4 separate regions of the Homo sapiens genome follow, and all the other regions are linked to region 1. Evidence: promoter capture Hi-C in human tissues and cell types (Jung and others, 2019). All regions are on one chromosome and are shown on one strand. The core of a region is centred on a gene start or on the middle of the fragment in contact, and the rest is flanking DNA. Distances in the headings are between cores, read along the strand shown. Region 1 holds the start of NCOA6 (nuclear receptor coactivator 6). Region 2 overlaps DYNLRB1 (dynein light chain roadblock-type 1). Region 3 overlaps MMP24-AS1-EDEM2 (MMP24-AS1-EDEM2 readthrough). Region 4 overlaps MMP24-AS1-EDEM2 (MMP24-AS1-EDEM2 readthrough).

Region 1 (4,921 bases), core at 2,279-4,778:
AAGGTATCCTTGGAGTAGCCCCGTTTGAACTGGGATCTGAAGACTGAGAGTTATCTAAGTGGGGAGAGCATTGCAGGCAGGGGGATCAGCATGTGCAAGGGTTCTCAGAAAGGAGGGAGAACAATGTGTAAGAAATATCACTGTAGTTGCAACCCAGAGAAAGGGGAAGAGGGCCCTAAGATAAATCTAGAGATGTGGGGAGGCCAACATTTATTTGGTCTTTATCTTTTTTTTAGAGACGGAGTCGCGCTCTGTCGCCCAGCCTGGAGTGCAGTGGCGCGATCTCGGCTCACTGCAAGCTCCGCCTCCTGGGTTCACACCATTCTCCTGCCTCAGCCTCCCGAGTAGCTGGGACTACAGGCGCCTGCCACCACGCCCGGCTAATTTTTTGTATTTTCAGTAGAGACGGGGTTTCACCGTGTTAGCCAGGATGGTCCGATCTCCTGATCTTGTGATCTGCCCGCCTCGGCCTCCCAAAGTGCTGGGATTACAGGCGTGAGCCACCGCGCCCGGCTTGGCCTTTATCTTAAGAGCAATGTAGAGCCATCAGATTTTTTTTTTTTTTTGAGACAGGGTCTCACTCTATTGCCCAGGCTGGAGTGCAATGATATGATCTTAGCTTACTGCAGCCTCAACCTCCCAGGCTCAGGCAATCCTCCCACCTCAACCTCCAAAGTGGCTGGGGCCACAGGTGTGCAGCACCATGCCTGCTATGTTTTTGTCTTTTGTTGTCTTTTTGAGACACGGTTTCCCTTTGCCACCCAGGCAGGAGGGCAGTGGTGTTATCTCGGCTCACTGAAGCCTCCACCTTCCAGCTCAAGTGATTCTTGCCTCATGCCTCAGCCTCCCGATTAGCTGGGACTACAGGTGTGCACCACCATGCCCAGCTAATTTTTGTATTTTCAGTAGAGATGGGGTTTTGCCATGTTGCCCAGACTAGTCTCGAACTTCTGAGCTGACGTGATCCACCCACCTCGACCTCCCAAAGTGCTGGAATTATAGGCATGAGCCACTGAGCCCAGCCATTTTTGTATTTTTTGTTGAGACAGCGTTTGCCATGTTGCTCAGCCCGGTCTTGAACTCCTGGGCTCAAACAATCCACCTGCCTCAGCCTCCCAAAGTGTTGGGATTACAGGTGTGAGCCACTGCACCTGGCCATCAACAGATACTTTTAAGTAGAGTAGTGACATGATCATATTTCTGATCATTAGAAACATTACTCTGACAGCAGGGTGGAGAATAGATTAGAGGGCGGTCAGGGTAATGTGAAAAGATGGTGGGTATCTACTACACCAGTCCAAGCACACTGTGTGTACTCAATAAATATTGATGGAATGAAAGGGTTCCTGACTCCCTTTCTTCTATGGGATCAGTAGGACTGATTTGTTTAATTAGTTTACAATCCACCTGCTCATCCTCTATCTCCTGGGATGCTCAGAACAGACCCCAACTCCCATTTTACAGATGAAGATGCTCAAGTTCAGAGAGGCAAGGACAGCTATCAAGAGCGAAAGCCAAAGAGAGCTGCCATACAATCCAGCAATCCCATTCTTAGGTATACACCGGAAAGAAAGGAAATCAGTGTATGGAAGAGATCTGCACTCTCATGTTTACTGCATCCCTGTTCACAACAGCCAAGATTTGGAAGCAACCTAAGTGTCCATCAACAGATGAATGGATAAATAAAATGTACATATACACAATGGAATACTATTCCGCCATTAAAAAAGAGTGAGATCGTGTCATTTGCAACAATATGGATGGAACTGGAGGTCATTATGTTATGTGAAAGAAGCCGGGCACAGAAAGACAAACTTCACATGTTCTCACTTATTTGTGGGAGCAAAAAATTAACTATTTTTTATTTTTTTTTGAGACGGAGTCTCACTCAGCCACCTAGGCTGGAGTGCAGTGGCGCGAGCTAGGCTCACCGCAACCACCATCTCCCAGGTTCAAGAGATTCTCCCGTCTCAGCCTCCTGAGTAGCTGGGATTACAGGCACCCGCCATCATGCCCACCTAGCTTTTGTATTTTAGTAGAGACAGGGTTTCACCATGTTGGCCAGGCTGGTCTTGAACTCCTGACCTCAGGTGATCCGCCCATCTTGGCCTCCCAAAGTGCTAGGATTACAGGCGTGAGCCACCATGCCGGGCCAGGAGCGAAAAATTAAAACAATTGAACTCATGGAGATAGAGAATAGAAGGAGGGTTACCAGAGGCTGGTAAGATTAATGGGGAGGTAGGTGGGAAGTGGGAATGATTAACGGGTACAAAAGAATAGTTAGAAAGAATAAGACCTAGTATTTGCTAGCACAAGAAGGTGACTACAGTAAAAAACAATTGGCCGGGCGCGGTGGCTCACGCCTATAATCCCAGCACTTTGAGGGGCAGAGGCGGGCGGATCATGAGGTCAGGAGTTCCTGACCAGCCCGGCCAATATGGTGAAACCCCATCTCTACTTAAAAAATATACAAAAATTAGCTGGGCGTGGTGGCATGCGCCTGTAGTACCAGCTACTCAGGAGGCTGAGGCAGGCGAATCCCTTGAACCAGGGAGGCGGAAGTTGCAGTGAGCTGAGATCGCGCCACTGCACTCCAGCCTGGGCGACGGAGTGAGACTCCGTCTCAAAAAAACAAAAATAAAACAAAAAACAAAAAAAAAACCACACACACACAAAATTTACTTGTACATTTTAAAATAACTAGAGTATAATTGGGTTATTTGTAACACAAAGGATAAATGCTTGAGTTGCTAGATACCCCATTTACCATGATGTGATTACACATCGCATGCCTGTATCAAAATCTCATGTACCCCATAAATATATTCACCTACTACGTACTTACGAAAATTTAAAAAATACATCAGTGTAGTGTGGGAAAAAACAGAAAATTTTTAAAAAAGAGTGAAAGCCAGATATGAATCCAGGCCTGTATGACAGACATGAAGTCCAGTGCTGAGGAGGCCTTTCTACGTTTGGGAAGAGGGGAGGGGCCACACTCGTTCGATCAATAATTCTATTTACTGAGCATTTTAGCTTGCTAGGGAGGTAATGATGGGAAAAAGAAGAGAGGGATTTAGAGGCAAATAATAATGAAAGCTTTTATCTATATCCCATTAAGCTTATTATTAGACAGTATGTGTCAGGCACGGTGACAAGTGCTTTCCAAGCCCACCTCCATTTGCTCTTCACAAGCACTATGATTTTCCCCATATTTCAGATGGGTAAACTGAGGCTTGGAGTTGCCATGTCCAAGGATACTCAGAGCGCTCGCAAAAGACTGTGCAATGTGTGCTTCCGAAGTGGGACTCACTGGCGAGAGAATAGCCCTGGAAAGCCGACAGAGACCCACGAGATCCCAGCACTAAGCACTCAGCACCGAAGGGAGCTGGCGCGCGCTCCACCTCGCGCTCCCGGGGACGTCTGGTCACGTGGGCAATGCCCCGCCCCTCGAGTCCGCCCCGCCCCCTCTCGCGCTCCCTCCCTCTCTCCCTCCCTCCCCCTCCCTCCCCGGCCCGGTCCGGCCCATCCCCCTCCCCGCCGGCTCCGTGAGGCCCTGCCGGGTCGGGCTGCGGGCGGCCGGGCGCGGGCGGCGGGACAGACGGGCGCACGCGAGGACTGACGGACGGACGCACCGAGGGCGGCGGGCACGCACGGCCCGGGCCGGCGCTCCAAGGCCCGCCCGGGAGGGCCGGGGCCGCGCTCAGGTGAGGGGACGGCGGCGCGGGCCCGTAAGGGGTGGGCCCGCCGGGCGTCCGCGGTCCTTGTCGGGCTGGCTTCGCGGGGAGGAGGCGCCGCCCGGGCCCGCGCGGAAAAATGGCGCCGGGCGACCGAGTGGCACGGTCTGAGAGCGGGCCCGGCCCGGAGCCGCCCCGCCCGCCGCGCTTGTGTCCCCGTCGCCATGTTGGGGAGCGGGCCCCAGGCCTGCGGGCGGGGGCGCTGGAGGGAGCGGCGGCCGGGCTGGGTGGGGAGGGTGCTGGGCGCGGGGGCCGGTGCACTGAGGGAGTGCAGGGCTGGCCGGGGTCTGCACGGGGTGGCGCTCCAGGCCTGGGGAACAGGCGGGAGCCGGTCGTGGGGTCGTGGTCAGGGTCGCGGAGAAGGAACACTGGGTCCGAAGGGAACCGGGATTGGGGTCTATGGGCTGAGAGGATGGCAGGACGTGGAACTGGGTTAGGCCTTAGGCGGTGTTAGAGCCCTAATGCAGGTAGGACCTGGGGATTGGGGTGGAGGCATGGGGGCCAAGCTCAGGCTGTCAGGGCTGGAGCAGTTCTTTGCTGGGAGGGAAGGAGGTGATTGATGAGGAATGAGGGCCCTTTGGGTACAGACGCTGGTTCAGATTGGGGCAGTCCTTGGGGTACTGGGGCTGAATTGCAAAGCTGTATAACTCCCAAGGCTCTGAAGACTTATGTCCCAAGCATCCTCCACCCCCTCTTGGGGGAAGCAACAGGAAAAAGGAGGTGTTTGATGAGAGAAAAGGGGGACAAAGGGAGACTGAGGTTTGGGTGCAGGAGCTGGCCAGCAAAAGAGGCACAGAGAGTGGAACTGGTTGGCAAGGAAGGAGAGAACCTTTATCAACTTAGGGAGTTGTGTGTGTCTTTAAAAGGAGGGACCTGGCTGTTTGGGGGCGGTGACCCAAGGTGTCTTCCCTGGAAGGGGACAGCCCACAGCTTAAGAGCAGAGTCACCTGGAGAGGTCATCAGAAAGGCGTTATTGAAGCCAGTAAAATGGTGAAGAAGAGTGAATGTATAAAAACTACAAAGGCCTGAGAGATCAAGTAAAGATTTCAAATCAGGTAGTGATTTTAGCTGAAACATAGAAAGGTAAAGTTGACTTTTCAAGATCTTACAAGTTAGTGGCAGAGGGGTACTAGAAATTGTCGGCTGCTTCCTCACTAAACACATTGCCTTAAAGGAATTTGCTA
Region 2 (4,819 bases), core at 1,771-4,270, 310 kb after region 1:
AAGACCTGATGCTTCCAAAGGACGGCTCTGGCTGCTGTGGGGAGAAGGGACAGCAGGGGGCGAACACAGCCTGCGGAAGCCTCCTACCCCTGCCCTGCCAGGTGCTGCTCTCGGTCTGAAGGAAACAAGCTTCCCTCCTTCACTCACTGCTTGATGTAACTACCTCCCAACCCTTTGGACTCAGCTCCAGAGCCCGCAGGAGGCTTCTCTGACATCAGCCCCTCTACTGGGCACCGAGGCCCCCAGCCTTCGCAGCACTGACCACAATGCAGTGCAACTGTTTAGGTCACGTTCATCTCCTCCTCCAGACGCAAGGCACCCTGGAATCAGGAAACCAGACCAGACTTTATAGCCCCAGTACCTCGCATAGGATAGGCTCAATAAATACTGAAGGAACAAATAAAAAGCATTTCTGCAACTATGTTTCACGAAATCAACCTTTTTAAGTACAGGAGGGGGACATGGCCTCACAGTCCACAGTGTGAAAAAGAGCTAAGGTTTAGGTGATCTGAAACTCAACGAGAACCAGATACTAAGATCTGGCTGTTTAAAAGTAAACATGGGCTGGGCACAGTGGCTCATGCCTGTAATCCCAGCACTTTGGGGGACCAAAGCAGGTAGACTGCTTGAGCCCAGGAGTTTGAGACCAGCCTGGGCAACATGGTGAAGCTTCGTCTCTACAAAAGATAAAAAAAATTAACCATGCGTGGTGTCGTGTGCCTGCAGTCCCAGCTAGTTGGGAGGCTGAGGTGAAAGGATTGCCTGAGCCCAGGAGGCCGAGGCTGCAGTGAGCCATGATCGCGCCATTGCACTCCAGCCTGGAAAACAGAGTGTAAGACTCATCAAAAAAAAAAAAAAAAAAAAAAGAAAAAGAAAAAAGAAAGAAAGAAAAAAGAAAAGTAAACACACATCTCACACATCTATCAGGAATGGGAGGACACATAGGTATAATTTCCCTACTCAGCGCCTACTATGGGTCATATATTGCTTTCAGACACATGCTCTCTTCTGAAACTCCCATTCATGGGTTAGTATGATCTCCATGTTAGTGATGGGGAAACAGGTTTGGAAAGGAGAAGGGTTTTGCCCAAGAACACACTGCAGGTCAACAGAAGAGCTGAATATACTGGTGACCACAACTGAGGAGGTCCCTGCCCTCAGGGAGCTCACATTCTGGTGAAAGAGACTTAAACAAGTGAGCAAGATTCTTGCAGGATACAGGGACTAGGCTGTGGGGCAAGGGATGCTACTCTGGCTAATGTGGTCAGGAACACCTGAGGAGATGTAATCTTTTTTTTTTTTGAGATAGGGTCTCACTCTGTCACCCAGGCGTGCCATGGTTCGATCATGGCTCACTGCAGCCTTGACCTCCCAGGCTCAAGTGATCCTCCCACTTCAGCCTCCCGAACACGTGGGACTACTGATGTGTACTGCCAAACCCAGCTAATTTTTTGTAGAGATGGGGTTTCGACATGTTGCCCAGGCTGGTCTTGAACTCCTGGGCTCAAGTGATCTACTGCCTTGGCCTCCCAAACTGTTGGGACTACAGGCGTGAGCCACCATTCTCGGCCATAAGTATGTCATCTTTAAGCCAAGAATCAAATGATGAGAAAGAAATGCACTCTGGGCAATGGGATGATGGAGACAAGGTTCCCCAATTCTCTAGTTCCCAGATGCACATTCCTGACACATGGAAAAACAAGCAGCAATAAAGATCCAGGAGGATCCATTGGCTCAGCATAGGAGGGATGACCACTGGAAGCAAATGACTGACAAAGAACTATGACCAATTTGACCACTAAACATAAAACTTCTGTATAAGAATAACTAATCTAACAGGATAGAAAAGTATTTGCATCAAATATAACAGACAAAATAAATAAAAAAAAAACACAAAATGACTAAGAACAATAGCAAGTCTCTAGTAGGTAGTGCACAAAAGAATACTAGTAGAAAATATGCCTACGAGAAATTACAATCACATCAAACCATGGTCATCATCCCTCACAAACAAATGAAAAATTCAGCTGGGCGTGGTGCTCACACCTGTAATCTCAGCACTTTGGGAAACTGAGGTGGGTGAATCACTTGAGGTCAGGAGTTTGAGACCAGCCTGGCCAACATGGGGAAACCCTGTCTCTACTAAAAATACAAAAATTAGCCGTCATGGTGGCATGGGCCTGTAATCCCAGCTACTCAGGAGGCTGAGGCAGGAAAATTGCTTGAACCTGGGAGGCAGAGTTTGTAGTGAGCTGAGATCGTGCCCTCCAGCCTGGGCAACAGAGTGAGATTCCATTTCAAAAAAAAAAGACAGAAATGAAAAATTATAGCAATGCTGAGGTTTATTTTTAAATGCTGGCATTGTTATTACAAAACTGGCAGGTGCAAGGGCAATACAATCTTGACAAAGCTACAGGACAATATATTGCAAGAACCATAAAAGCACTGGTCCTTCCACCTCAGAAATTATTTTCCTAAGAATTTTATCCTGAGGAAATAATCTAATAAGTAAGTTAAAATGAAACAAAACAAGATATTCACAGAAGCATCATCACAGCACTATTTCTACTAATTAAGAAATGGAAGCAGCCAGGTATGGTGGCTCATGCCTGTAATCCTGGCACTTTGGGAGGCTGAGGCAGGCGGATCACCTGAGGTCAGGAGTTTGAGACCAGCCTGGCCAACATGGCGAAACCCTGTTTCTACTAAAAAATACAAAAATTAGCTGGGCGTCATGATGCACACCTGTTAATCCCAGCTACTCAGGAGGCTGAGGCAGGAAAATCACTTGAACCTGGGAGGCAGAGGTTGCAGTGAGCTGAGATTGAGCCACTGAACTCCAGTCTGGGCAACAGAGTGAGACTCCATCTCTAAAACAAACAAACCAAAAAGAAATGGGAGCAACCCAAATGTACACAGGTAAGATATTTGGCCAATTATGGTACAACTATTTCACCGAGTATTATGTAGTCACTAAGTAGTTAATCACAAAGATGATATGACAACAAGGTTAAATGTTTTTGGATATTAAAACAACAAAAAAAGAAAAAAATCCCCCCAAAACTCAGCATGCATTATCTTGGAAAATATGCATATGTGAACAAAAGAGGAAGGAGAACATACAAAGATGAAAATAGTTATGTGGCACAGTGAAACTGGACGAGGAGAATTATATGTGATTATTTTTTAATTTTATTTATTTATTTTGAGACAGAGTCTTGCTCTGTTGCCCAGGCTGGAGTGCACTGGCCTGGTCTCGGATCACTGCAACCCCCGCCTCCCGGGTTCAAGCGATTCTAGTGCCTCAGCCTCCTGAGCAGCTGGAATTACAGATGCACGGCTTCCGGCTACTTTTCGTATTTTTAGTAGAGACAGAGTTTCACCATGTTGCCCAGGCTGGTCTCCAACTCCTGACCTCAAGTGATCTGCCCACCTTGGCCTCCCAAAGTGCTGGGATTATATGCGTCAGCCATTGTGTCCGGCCAATTATAGATGATTTTTATATCATTATTCTAAAGGTCAGTTTCCACCTAAAATGTAAAATATGCAAGCCAAAAGTGCCACTTGTAGAAATCTATCCTACATAACCACTAGCATGAGTGCAAAAAAGACAAGAACAGTTACTGCAGCAGTGTCTGGAATAAAAAAACTATACACCACCTAAATGTACATATGGGACTAGGATACGATACAGACCTTAAAAAGAATGAAGTGGACCTGCATATAATAACACAGAAAAATGTGTGATATTTTTAAGTGAACAGAACAAGTTGCAGAATAAGATATATACATATATATCTTAAAGTCAACTTCTGTTTTCTCTTATTTTTTTCTCACCCAGGGTGGAGTGCAGTGGTGCAGTCACGGCTCACTGTAGCCTTGACCTCCTGGGCTCAGGCGATCTCTCCACTTCAGCCTTAAAGTAAAGTTAACATATACAAATATATATATATTCCAGTTTCATCTAATAAACAGCTTATACATAAATGTGCTTATGCACCAAACACATCTGGAAGGAAACACACCCAACTGCCAACAGAAGTTGCCACGGGGTAGTAAGATGGGGACCACATAAACTTTCTATATTATATCCTCTGGTACTGCTTCAAATTGTTAACATACATGGTGGTTTACGCCCATAATCCCAGCATTTTTGGAGGCGGAGGTGGGCGGATCACCTGAGGTCATGAGTTTGAGACCAGCCTGGTCAACATGGTGAAACCCTGTCTCTACTAAAAATAGAAAAAAAACCCTGTCTCTACCAAAAATAGAAAAATTAGCCAGGCATGGTGGCATGCTCCTGCAGTCCCAGCTACTCCGGAGGCTGAGGCAGGAGAATCACTCGAACCCGGGAGGCAGAGGTTGCAGTGAGCTCAGATCACACCACTGCACTCCAGCCTGGGCGAAAGGGCAAGACTCTGTTTCAAAAGAAAAAAAAAAAAAGTTAAACTAGGCATCTAAATTTGCATTGCTTTTATGAGTATAACCACGGAGTAGCATAATACAGGTTCTAGAAAGCTACAGTTTAAGTAAGAAAAAGGGGGGCCATATAAGTGCTTGTATAGATGCATAAGAAACTAACAGCTGGGTGTGGTGGCTCACGCCTGTAATCCTAACACTTTGGGAGGCCAACGTGGGTGAATCACTTGAGCCCAGGAGTTCAAGACCAGCCTGGGCAACATGGCAAAACCCCAACTCTACAAAAAAAAAATACAAAAAAATTAGCAGGGTGTGGTGGCGTGCACCAGTAGTCCCAGATACTTGGGGAATTAAGGCAGGAGGATCACTTGAGCCCAGGAGGGTCAAGTTTGCAAGAAAA
Region 3 (5,359 bases), core at 1,563-4,062, 320 kb before region 1:
CTTTTCCTTTCCACTGTTACATAACCAACATCCTTCCTCTTTTGGCAGCGTGACTGTGGGTGAAAAATGAATTCCTCTCCTAGGCCTTTTATTTGCATCTCATGATTCTGAAGCGTCCGGCTGTGGTTGCCTAGCTAGATAGGGGAAAAACGAACTACAACTTATGCAGATTCATTTATTTAGCAAACATTTATAGAGGACCTGTTATGTACGGAGAATTGTGATAGGCTTGCATAGCTCTATGGGGGATACAGAGACTTTGACATCTCCTGTTTTCAGAGGCTTACATTCTAGTGGCCATGTTCAATGATAATAAAAGGGTATCAGGCTGAGCATGGTGGCTCACACCTGTAATCCCAGCACTTTGGAAGGCCGAGGCAGGCAGATCACCTGAGGTCAGGGGTTTGAGACCAGCCTGGCCAATATGGTGAAACTCCATCTCTATTAAAATACAAAAAATTAGCCCAGCATAGTGGCACATGTCTGTTATCCCAGCTACTGGAGAGGCTGAGGCAGGAGAATTGCCTGAACCCGGGAGGCGGAGGTTGCAGTGAGCCGAGATTGCACCATTGCACTCCAGCCTGGGTGACAAGAGTGAAACTTCATCTCAAAAAAAATTATAAAGAAATAATATCAGTGACTAGTTAGTATGTTTCTGTAGGGCTTAGTACAGACATGTATTAATTCTTCTAACAACTTCTTGAGGTTAGTACCTTTACTCCTTCTTATCGTTAAGAAACCTGATGCTTAGGGATGGGCACAGTGGCTCACGCCTGTAATCCCAGCACTTTGGGAGGCCAAGGCGGCAGGACTGCTTGAGCACAGGAGTTCAAGACCAGCCTGGGCAATATGGTGAAACCCCGTCTCTACCAAAAATATAAAAAATTAGGCATGATGGCACATGTCTGTGGCTCCATTTGTTAGGGAGGAGGGTGAGGTAGGAGGATTGTTTGAGTCAGGGAGGCAGAGGTTGCAGTGAGCCGAGATCGCACCACTGCACTCTGGTCTGGGTAACAGAGTAAAACCCTGTCTCACACAAACAAAAAAAAGATATAAAAGAAACCTGATGCTTAGAAAGGTAAAAAGGGCCAGGTGTGGTGGCTCATGCCTGTAATCCCAGCACTTTGGGAGGCCAACATTGCTCAAGTCCCAGAGTTCGAGGCTGTGATGAGCTATGATCACACCACTGCACTCCAACCTGTGTAACAGAGCAAGACCCTGTCTCAAAAAAAAGACTTGGACTGGTTCAGGTCAAGTACCCACTCCACAGCTAGAGGGATGGGATCAGCCTCTCCCAAACCACAGGAGTGACTGCCGGGGAAGAGTGATTCCTCGAGGGTAAATTGAGATGTTACTATCAAAAGAAGAGAGATTGAGATTGCATTTGGCTAACGGTTTAAATAAAGAGGGTTTATTTTCTCAAGTAAAAGAAAGTCTAGAGGTAATTTCTAGCATTGGGTCAGCTACGCAACTGTGTCATTAGAGACCAGCCTCTTTGTAGCTTTGCATTCTAGTATCGTTAGTGTTTTGGCTTTTATTCTAATGCTTAGTACGTCATGGTCTCACATAGCTGCCATCACTTCAGAAATCGAGTCTGAGTTCAAGGCAGAAAGAGAGAGACTAAAAGCCATGTTAGCTGTGTTTGTCCCTTGGTATTAAGAAAACAGAAGCCTTCCCAGAAGTGCCCCCAGTAGACCTCTCAAGGGTCAGAATTGACTGGGTAACACAATCAACTGCAGCAGCAAAGGAGGCCGAGAAAGCTTCTGGATTTCCAACCTCTGGTGGGAGGCCATGAGGTAAAGAGGGTAGGAATGAATTTGTTTTGGGCCAACCAACCTGTTCTGTTTTCCACAAGGTTGAAGGTGACAACTGGTATCTACTGCAAATGTCAAACTAAGACTTTTGGCCAGGTGCGGTCGCTCACACCTGTAATCCCAGCACTTTGGGAGGCCAAGGCGGGTGGATCATGAGGTCAGGAGTTTGAGACCAGCCTGATCAACATGGTGAAACCCCGTCTCTACTAAAAATACAAAAATTAGCCGGGCATGGTGGTGCATAATCCCAGCTACTCGGGGCTGAGGCAGGAGAATCGCTTGAACCCAGGAGGCGGAGTTTGAAGTGAGCCAAGATCACGCCACTGCACTCTACCCTGGGCAGCAGAGCGAGACTCTGTCTCAAAAAAACGAAACAAAAAACCTAAGACTTCTATGCGTAGTTTGCGTTCTTTATATTGTGTCCATTTAAATGACAACATCGTGACTCTTAATTGGGACCTAGGAATTTACTTAACCAGTCTCTTGGTATGAAGTCTCTAGATGATTTCTAGCTCTCAGTGTTTTCTTCTGCTGTCACCAATCCTAGGACAGAAACTGGAGGTCTTAAGTGGAATTAGTGAGGGCCACATCAACATAGGATCCCAGACTCTGAATCTGCCTCCATGCATGTAAGAGCCTCATTGTCAGGTCTCTTTTTTATTTCCAGATTTTGGGGAATGTCTCAGAATTCCAAAGAGTGGTTGAAGTGCTCCAGGACAGCGTGGACTTTGATATTGATGTGAACGCCTCTGTGTTTGAAACAAACATTCGAGGTAAGGGCTGCTCTCTAGGACCTTTAAAAGAAAAAAGAGTGTGAAGTTGCCTCTGTAAACCAAGAAGTGGTAAATAGGATTTTAAGGACTGACCATGCCAGGACCCTTGGCCAAAACCTCTGACCGACAGAGCTCTTCTTCCCTCCTGGAGGGTGAGGTGGGGAAGTCTCAGGATTTCCCCATCAGTTTCAGATATGAAAGTGAGCAGGAGACTAAGAGACTGGAAAGAAATACACCAGATTACTCACCTCTTTAATATGTATTTGATACTAGGCATACAGCTATGAACAAGAAAGATATGATCCTTGCCTTCTTGGAACTTATTGTCTGTCCAATCCAATTTTCTGCAGTGATGGAAATGTCTTATAGCTGTGTTTTGTCCAGTATGGTAGCCACGAACCACATGAGCTATTGAGCATTTGAAATGTATCTACTACAACTATGGAATTGAATTTTTAATTTCATTTAATTTTAATGATATTAAATTTAAGTAGTCACATGTAGTTAGTGATTATTGTATTGGACAGTGCAAATCTACAGCATTAATCTTCCAAACTTGGCAGCCCATAGGAACCACTCCCAAGTGGTTAAAAAATTCAGATGTTGAGACTCCACCCTAAACCTAATGAATTGGAATCTCTGTGTTGGGTCCTAGAATCAGTATTTTTAGCAGACTTCCAGTGATTCTTGTGAAGCCAGCACAGCCCTTATTTGCATCGAACCTCTAGACCACTTAACAGCTGTCACCTCTGGATGGCAGAGTTCTATTTTTCCCCATTATTTTGTATGTTTTCTGCAATGAAACTTATATTCCAGACATATGATCCATAAAAGATTAAAAAAGAGAAGAGAGCAGAGGGACAACATGGTCTAAAATCCTGGTTTAGGAATCCGGCCTGAGTTTGAGGCTGTACTTGCTGCTATGTCTCCCAGCTTCTGAGCCCAGTTTGTCATCTGTAAATGAAGGTCATTCTTATACCTTTATTTCTGATAGGAATATAAGTGATACCAGCTTTCTTTTGGTTGACATTTTCCCATGTATCTTTTTCTATCCTTTCCATCTTTCTGTAGTTTTATGATTAGATACATCTTTTGCAAATAGTGTATTATATTTTGTTTATCCATTCTGACAATCTTTAACTGGCACATTTAATCCATTTACATTTACTGTAATTACTGATATATTTGCACTCATTTCTACAGTATTGTGCTCTCTGTGCCGTCTTCTTTTTTTTTTTTTTTTTTTTTTTTTTGAGGCGGAGTCTCACTCTGTCGCCCAGGCGGGAGTGTAGTGGTGCAATCTTGGCTTACTGCAACCTCTGCCTCCCGGGTTCAGGCGATTCTCCTGTCTCAGCCTCCTATGTAGCTGGGATTGCAGGTGCCTGCCACCGTGCCCTGCTAATTTTTGTATTTTTAGTAGAGATGGGGTTTCACCATGTTGGCCAGGCTAGTCTCGAACTCCTGACCTCAGGTGATCCGCCCCCCATCAGCCTCCCAAAGTGCTGGGATTATAGGTGTGAGCCACTGCACCTGGCCCTGTGCCATCTTCTTTATGTTCCTTTATTCTGTCCTTTTTCATGCCTTCTTTAGATTGTTTTCCCCCCATTCCATTTTCCTCTTACTAATATGGAAATTATGCACAATATCTAGCTTTTTACATAGTTTTCCAAGCAAATTTAACAAACATAACTTATCAAAGTCTAAATTTAATGAAAATCTTTGTTCTCCTCCTGAATAATGCAAAACCTGACTTAGAGAACATCCTGACCTATATGCTACAGTTATATATTTTAGTTATTTGTTTTAAACCTTCCATACATTATAATTTTTGTTCTATATTGTTGAAGTTTTGCATTTACACATAAATTTACCACTTTTTTTGTTGTTGTTGGTTTGAAATAGAGTCTCACTCTGCCACCCAGGCTGGAGTGCAGTGGCGCGATCTTGGCTCACCTCCACCTCCTGGGTTTAAACGATTCTCCTGCCTCAGCCTCCAGAGTAGCTGGGATTACAGTTGTGCACCACCACACCAGGCTAATTTTTGTATTTTTAGTAGAGATGGTGTTTCACCACATTGGCCAGGCTGGTCTCAAACTCATGATCTTGAGTGATCCACCTGCTTTGGCTTCCCAAAGTGCTGGAATTACAGGTTTAGCCACTGTGCCTGGCCTATTTACCACTTTTTTGACTATTTTTTCTTTTCGTGTCTCAGACCTTTTCTCTAAAGTATTTCCTTTAGAATTTCCTTTAATGCAGGTGTGTGCTTCATAAACATTCCCAGCTTTTGTTTATATGAAAATGTCTTTATTCAACTGCCTTTGGTTGGCCTTTGAGTGATATTTTTGCTGGGTGTATGGTTCTAGGTTGATGGTTACTTTCTCTTATTGTGTTAAAAACTTTTTCCATTATCTTCTGGTTTCATTATTGTTAAGAAGTAATCTGTCAATGTAATTATTATTTATTTGTAGAGAATCTTGTTTTGGTTTTCACTTTGGCTGTCTTCTCCTTTTAAAAACTTTTTGTTATGGAAAACTTCAAACATAAAAGTAGAGAAAATAGCATAATGAACCAGACGTGCCCATCACCCAGCATTAATAATTATTATTACATGGATTCTGGCTGCATTCGAGATCATTTTTCCCTTTGGTGTTCTGCAGTTTTACCATAAGGTACATACATGTAGATTTCTTTTCTTTCTTTCTTTTCTTTTTTTTTTTTTTTCTGAGATGGAGTCTCGCTCTGTCGCCCAGGCTGGAGTGCAGTGTCATGATC
Region 4 (4,972 bases), core at 1,303-3,802, 300 kb before region 1:
TATAAAATTACAACAGCTGTGATATCTTTAGGCTGTGGTGATTTTTCACCTCTATTATAATTTTATAGGACCACCATCTCTACAGTTCAGTGTTGACCAACATGTTGTTATATGGCACATGACTGTATATAGAGTTTATTTAGTACTATCCATGGTTTCAGACATCCACTGAGGGTCTTGGAACGTATTCTCCTCACATAAGGGGGGACTACTTTACTCATTTATTCAACAAATATTTATTGAATACCACGGATGTACCAAGCATTGTGCCAAGCTCTGAACATGGACTGTTTCATATAATCCTTACAACTCCTGTTTGAGATTATCTTATTTATTTGCATGTATATTTGGTACTTTGTTCATTCAGAAAATGTTTATTGCTCATTGTACTAGTGTGGGGGATTCTGCAGTAGACAAAACAAAGTCCCAGGCCTCATGGATTTACAATCTAGGGGAGAGATATGAGGGATAAATTCAAGTTCCTACTAGAATGTAAGTTCTCTGAAGGCTGGATTTTGTCTTGTTTACAAACTCATAGGAGCCTGGAACCTAGTAGGTGCTTAGCGAATGTTTGTGGTATAAATAAATGACTGAAAAATTCCACAGATACCTAACATTACTGTATTAGACCATTTTCACTGCTGATAAAGACGTACTCAAGACTGGGTAATTTATAAAGAAAAAGAGGTTTAATGGACTCACAGTTCCACATGGCTGGGGAGGCCTCACAATCGTGGCGGAAGGCGAAAGGCACATCTTACATGGTGCAGGCAAGAGAGAATGAGAGCCAAGTGAAAGGGGAAACCTCTTATAAAACCATCAGATCTTGTGAGACTTATTCACTACCATGAGAACAGTATGGGGGAAACGGCCCCCATGATTCAATTATCTCCCACCAGGTCCCTTCCACAACACGTGAGAAATATGGGAGCTACAATTCAAGGTGAGATTTAGGTGGGGACACAGCCAAACCACATCAATTATTTTCTGCTTTTTTCTTTTTGAGATGGAGTTTCACTCTTGTTGCCCAGGCTGGAGTGCAATGGTGCGATCTCAGCTCACAGCAACCTCCGCCTCCTGGGTTCAAGCAATTCTCCTTCCTCAGCCTCCCAAGTAGCTGAGATTACAGGCATGCACCACCACACCTGGCTAATTTTGTATTTTTAGTAGAGACAGGGTTTCTCCGTGTTGGTCAGGCTGGTCTCGAACTCCCAATCTCAGGTGATCCGCCCACCTCGGCCTCCCAAAGTGCTGGGATTATAGATGTGAGCCACCACGCCTGGCCTCCCCATTTTATAGATCATAAGGCTGAGGCTTAAAAGGGAAAAACCCACCCCAGGTCACGGTTAGCAAGTGGTAGAGCTGGAGCTGGAATTTGAGCTGGAAGTTTGACTCCAGAATCCATGCTCTTGTCTAGCCTCCTTGCCTCATTGCATCCTGGTGCTCTTTCCAAAGTGTAAGTTCTCGCTTCCGCTGTCCAGGCCTGCCTTTTTTCTCCCTAATCACTCATATGTCCATTATCCCATCTCCCCCACTGCAGAGTATAACAAAGCCATCCGGAACTACACCCGCTTCGATGACTGGTACCTGTGGGTTCAGATGTACAAGGGGACTGTGTCCATGCCAGTCTTCCAGTCCTTGGAGGCCTACTGGCCTGGTCTTCAGGTAGGAATGATCAAAGAATGTGATCATCTTTCTATGAGTCTGGCAAAGCAAGCTCATTCTGATGTATAAGTCAAATAATGTACTTTGTTAATTGCTTGAGTACTTTTTTTGGAGGGACAGGTTGAGGATGGAAGAGAGACCTAGAGTGAATTAGATAGATTTAGAGTTCTGCCAAATTGAGTGTCAGGAACTGAGCTTCCAGTTTGCCATGGAGTGTTACAGTACTTAAAGTCGACAGTGCATTTCCAGTCTGGGCAGGAATGGCCATTGGCAACAGGTGTTTCTCCACTGGGCGTTTCTGTCCAATCTCATTCTTGACAGTGGGCCTCAGGAAGGGCAGGAAGCAGCTTGTGCCGCTGTGCCATCTCGTTGTTTTTCCATTACATGGTCTGGTAGAGTTGCAGCTGGAAGGATCTTAGAGCTTATCTAATCTACCCCACTTTGGTGTTCCAAAATAGTGCATGTACCAAAATGTTTTTATAATCTACGTTTTTAAAAGTTTTAAGAAAAAGTAGTCCCACCTGGGCAACATAGTGAGACCTCATCTCTACAAAAAATAAAAAATTAGGTCGGGCGCGGTGGCTCAGGCCTATAATCCCAGCGCTTTGGCAGGCCGAGGCAGGCGGATCACAAGGTTAGGAGATTGAGACCATCCTGGCTAACACGGTGAAACCCCATCTCTACTAAAAATACAAAAAATTAGCTGGGCGTGGTGGTGGGCGCCTGTAGTCCCAGCTACTCGGGAGGCTGAGGCAGGAGAATGGCATGAACCTGGGAGGCGGAGCTTGCAGTGAGCTGAGATTGCGCCACTGCACTCCAGCCTGGATGACAGAGCAAGACTCCGTCTCAAAAAAATAAAAATAAATAAATAAAAATAAAAATAAAAAATTAGCCTAGGGTGGTGGCACATGCCTGTAGTCCCAGCTACTCAGGAGACTGCAGTGGAAGGATTGCTTGAACCCAGAAGATCAAGGCTGCAGTGAGCCATGATCATGCCATTGCAGCCTGGGTGACAGAGTGAGACCCTGTCTCAAAAAAAAAAAAAAAAAGTGGCCACCGGGTTTCTATCCAGAATAACCAGGTAGACATTGTGTCATTTACCAAGAAGGGAAAAAGGCCAAAGTAGGGAGGCAATTTCGTGGGAAAGTAAGGGAACCAAGAATTTTGTTTAGGAAGTGCCAAGTTTGTTCTGTCCATGAGACATCCAATGAAGATGTCAGGGTCAGCTGCTTCCCTGTGAGATTACATTAATAGTAATGGCTACTTAGCAATAGTGGTAAAATTATAAATGCATATATCCTTTGACCCAGTGATCCTAATTCTGAAAATGTATCTTACACATAACATTTTACATCTATTTGATGTGACATATATACAGAATTATTTATTGCCACATTAGTTGTTGGAACCAATTCAAATAAAAATATCTGAAAGCCAAATTTCCATATCTAAAAATATGGAGATAATTAATATCCCTATTAATAAAGAACCAAAGGCTATTTTTTAGTGTGGGGAAAATAACATATACTCATGCATAAAGAAACTCTGAAAGGTTATACAAGAAACCAGTAATGTTTATCTGAGGCCAGGCAAGATGGGTGATGGTTGTAATCCCAGCACTTTGGAAGGCTGAGGTAGGAGGATCACTTGAGCCCAGGAGATTAAGACCAGCCTGGGCAACAAAGTGAGACCCCCATCTCTACAGAAAATAAAAAAATTAGCACTGGGAGGCTGAGGTGAGAGGATCTCTTGAGCCCAGGAGGTCAAGGCTGTAATGAACCGTGATTGTGCCACTGCACTCCAGCCTAGGTGACAGAGCGAGACCCTGTCTCAAAAACAAAAACAAAAATGGTTATCTTTTGGGGGTGTGGTGTGGGAGTGAGCCTTAGCACAAACTTTTCTCTATTCTTAGAATTTTTAACTGGCTGGCCGAATTCCAAAACTGTTAGCTGACATTGACTCTGAAGATTTAGGGACTTAATATACAATCTTTGTTCCTTCCAACAATGCATGAGATAGGTGGTGTATTTTACGTTTTATAGATGGGGCTCAGAGAAGTCCAGTGCCTGGCTCAGCACCACACTGAGTAACTGGCAGACTCAGGGATTGATTCAAGGCCTTTTTGGCCCCACAGATTTTACTTTGTCTTTTCTTAAGGTTGTCTGTGGGGTTTTATGCCTGGTGTCTACCTGCCTGACAGCCACTTTCTCCCACAGAGCCTCATTGGAGACATTGACAATGCCATGAGGACCTTCCTCAACTACTACACTGTATGGAAGCAGTTTGGGGGGCTCCCGGAATTCTACAACATTCCTCAGGGATACACAGTGGAGAAGCGAGAGGGCTACCCACTTCGGCCAGGTGAGCAGCATTTCTGGCTTGTCATCTGCCCACAGGCTCTGGTTGCTGAAACCCCAAATCCCCTCTACAAGGCTCCATCCTCCACAACTGCCCACAAGTTCATTTCTTTCCATCTGTTCCTTTCAGTGGCTCTGGGTGGTTTTCTTACTAGGAGTTAATTATCCCCATGTTTTCAGATATGGAAACTGAGGCCTAGTGGGATGAAATGGCTCGCCTCTGGCTCTTAAGTGCAGGAGCTAGGCCTGGAACCCAGGGCTCCTAACTAAATTGCATGCTCTTTTTTATTTTTATTTTTTTGAGATGGAGTTTCGCTATTGTTGCCCAGACTGAAGTGCAATGGTGTGATCTCGGCTCACCGCAACCTCCGCCTCCTGGGTTCAAGCGATTCTCCTGCCTCAGCCTCCCGAGTAGCTGGGATTACAGGCATGAGCCACCATGCCCAGCTAATTTTGTATTTTTAGTAGAGATGGAGTTTCTCCATGTTGGTCAGGCTGGTCTTGAACTCCCAGCCTCAGGTGATCCGCCCACCTTGGCCTCCCAAAGTGCTGGGATTACAGATGTGAGCCACTGCGACTGGCCCCATATGCTCTTTCAAATCAGGAAATGAGTGAGAAGGAAAAGGCCAAGGTTGACTCCTTTTGAGCTCCTGCCATCAGGATTTCAGAAGTGTAGGCAAGCTTCCTAAGTCCATGGGTCAGATAAATTATGCTTACGTGTATGGAATGTTAGAACTTTGGGGCGGACCTTAGGAATTACCTAGTCTCTTCCACCTCCCCATTTGCAGCTCAGAATCAAGCAAAGGACTATATTTGAGACACTCTCATAGGTTCCTTTCTAGCCCTAATGTCATTTGATTCACTTCAGGGAAGCTGAAAATTGTGAGGAGGGAAAGAAAAAGAGGGACAAAGGAAGGAAGCTTAGTCAGCACACATAGTCATCCCCCACC

Evidence for each region. Contacts are between HindIII fragments. The study calls those that stand out against the background at their distance.
Region 2: a fragment that was not itself captured here is called in contact with the fragment with the promoter of NCOA6 in region 1 in 3 of the 25 tissues and cell types used here (IMR-90 fibroblasts, lymphoblastoid cells and spleen).
Region 3: a fragment that was not itself captured here is called in contact with the fragment with the promoter of NCOA6 in region 1 in 2 of the 25 tissues and cell types used here (hippocampus and spleen).
Region 4: a contact is called between a fragment that was not itself captured here and the fragment with the promoter of NCOA6 in region 1, in 2 of the 25 tissues and cell types used here (lymphoblastoid cells and mesenchymal stem cells).

What each region holds. Positions count from the first base shown.
Region 1 is chr20:34,824,258-34,829,178 of GRCh38, reverse strand. NCOA6 (nuclear receptor coactivator 6) reads left to right here and starts at 3,528. Exons shown (of 15, transcript NM_014071.5): 1 at 3,528-3,707. RefSeq lists silencers at 3,422-3,611, 3,622-4,061. The HindIII fragment of the contact is 14,831 bases long and covers 1,369-4,921 here.
Region 2 is chr20:34,518,517-34,523,335 of GRCh38, reverse strand. All of the region lies in intron 1 of DYNLRB1 (dynein light chain roadblock-type 1), which reads right to left. Among named protein-coding and RNA genes, the nearest start is that of DYNLRB1, 4.5 kb to the right of the region's middle. RefSeq lists an enhancer at 1-398. The HindIII fragment of the contact is 5,242 bases long and covers 400-4,819 here.
Region 3 is chr20:35,139,601-35,144,959 of GRCh38, reverse strand. It overlaps MMP24-AS1-EDEM2 (MMP24-AS1-EDEM2 readthrough), which reads left to right. Exons shown (of 15, transcript NM_001355008.2): 8 at 2,482-2,587. EDEM2 (ER degradation enhancing alpha-mannosidase like protein 2) reads left to right here. Exons shown (of 11, transcript NM_018217.3): 4 at 2,482-2,587. Among named protein-coding and RNA genes, the nearest start is that of EDEM2, 5.1 kb to the left of the region's middle. The HindIII fragment of the contact is 7,283 bases long and covers 1-5,359 here.
Region 4 is chr20:35,122,944-35,127,915 of GRCh38, reverse strand. It overlaps MMP24-AS1-EDEM2 (MMP24-AS1-EDEM2 readthrough), which reads left to right. Exons shown (of 15, transcript NM_001355008.2): 12 at 1,541-1,665; 13 at 3,882-4,026. It overlaps EDEM2 (ER degradation enhancing alpha-mannosidase like protein 2), which reads left to right. Exons shown (of 11, transcript NM_018217.3): 8 at 1,541-1,665; 9 at 3,882-4,026. Among named protein-coding and RNA genes, the nearest start is that of EDEM2, 22 kb to the left of the region's middle. The HindIII fragment of the contact is 6,297 bases long and covers 1-4,972 here.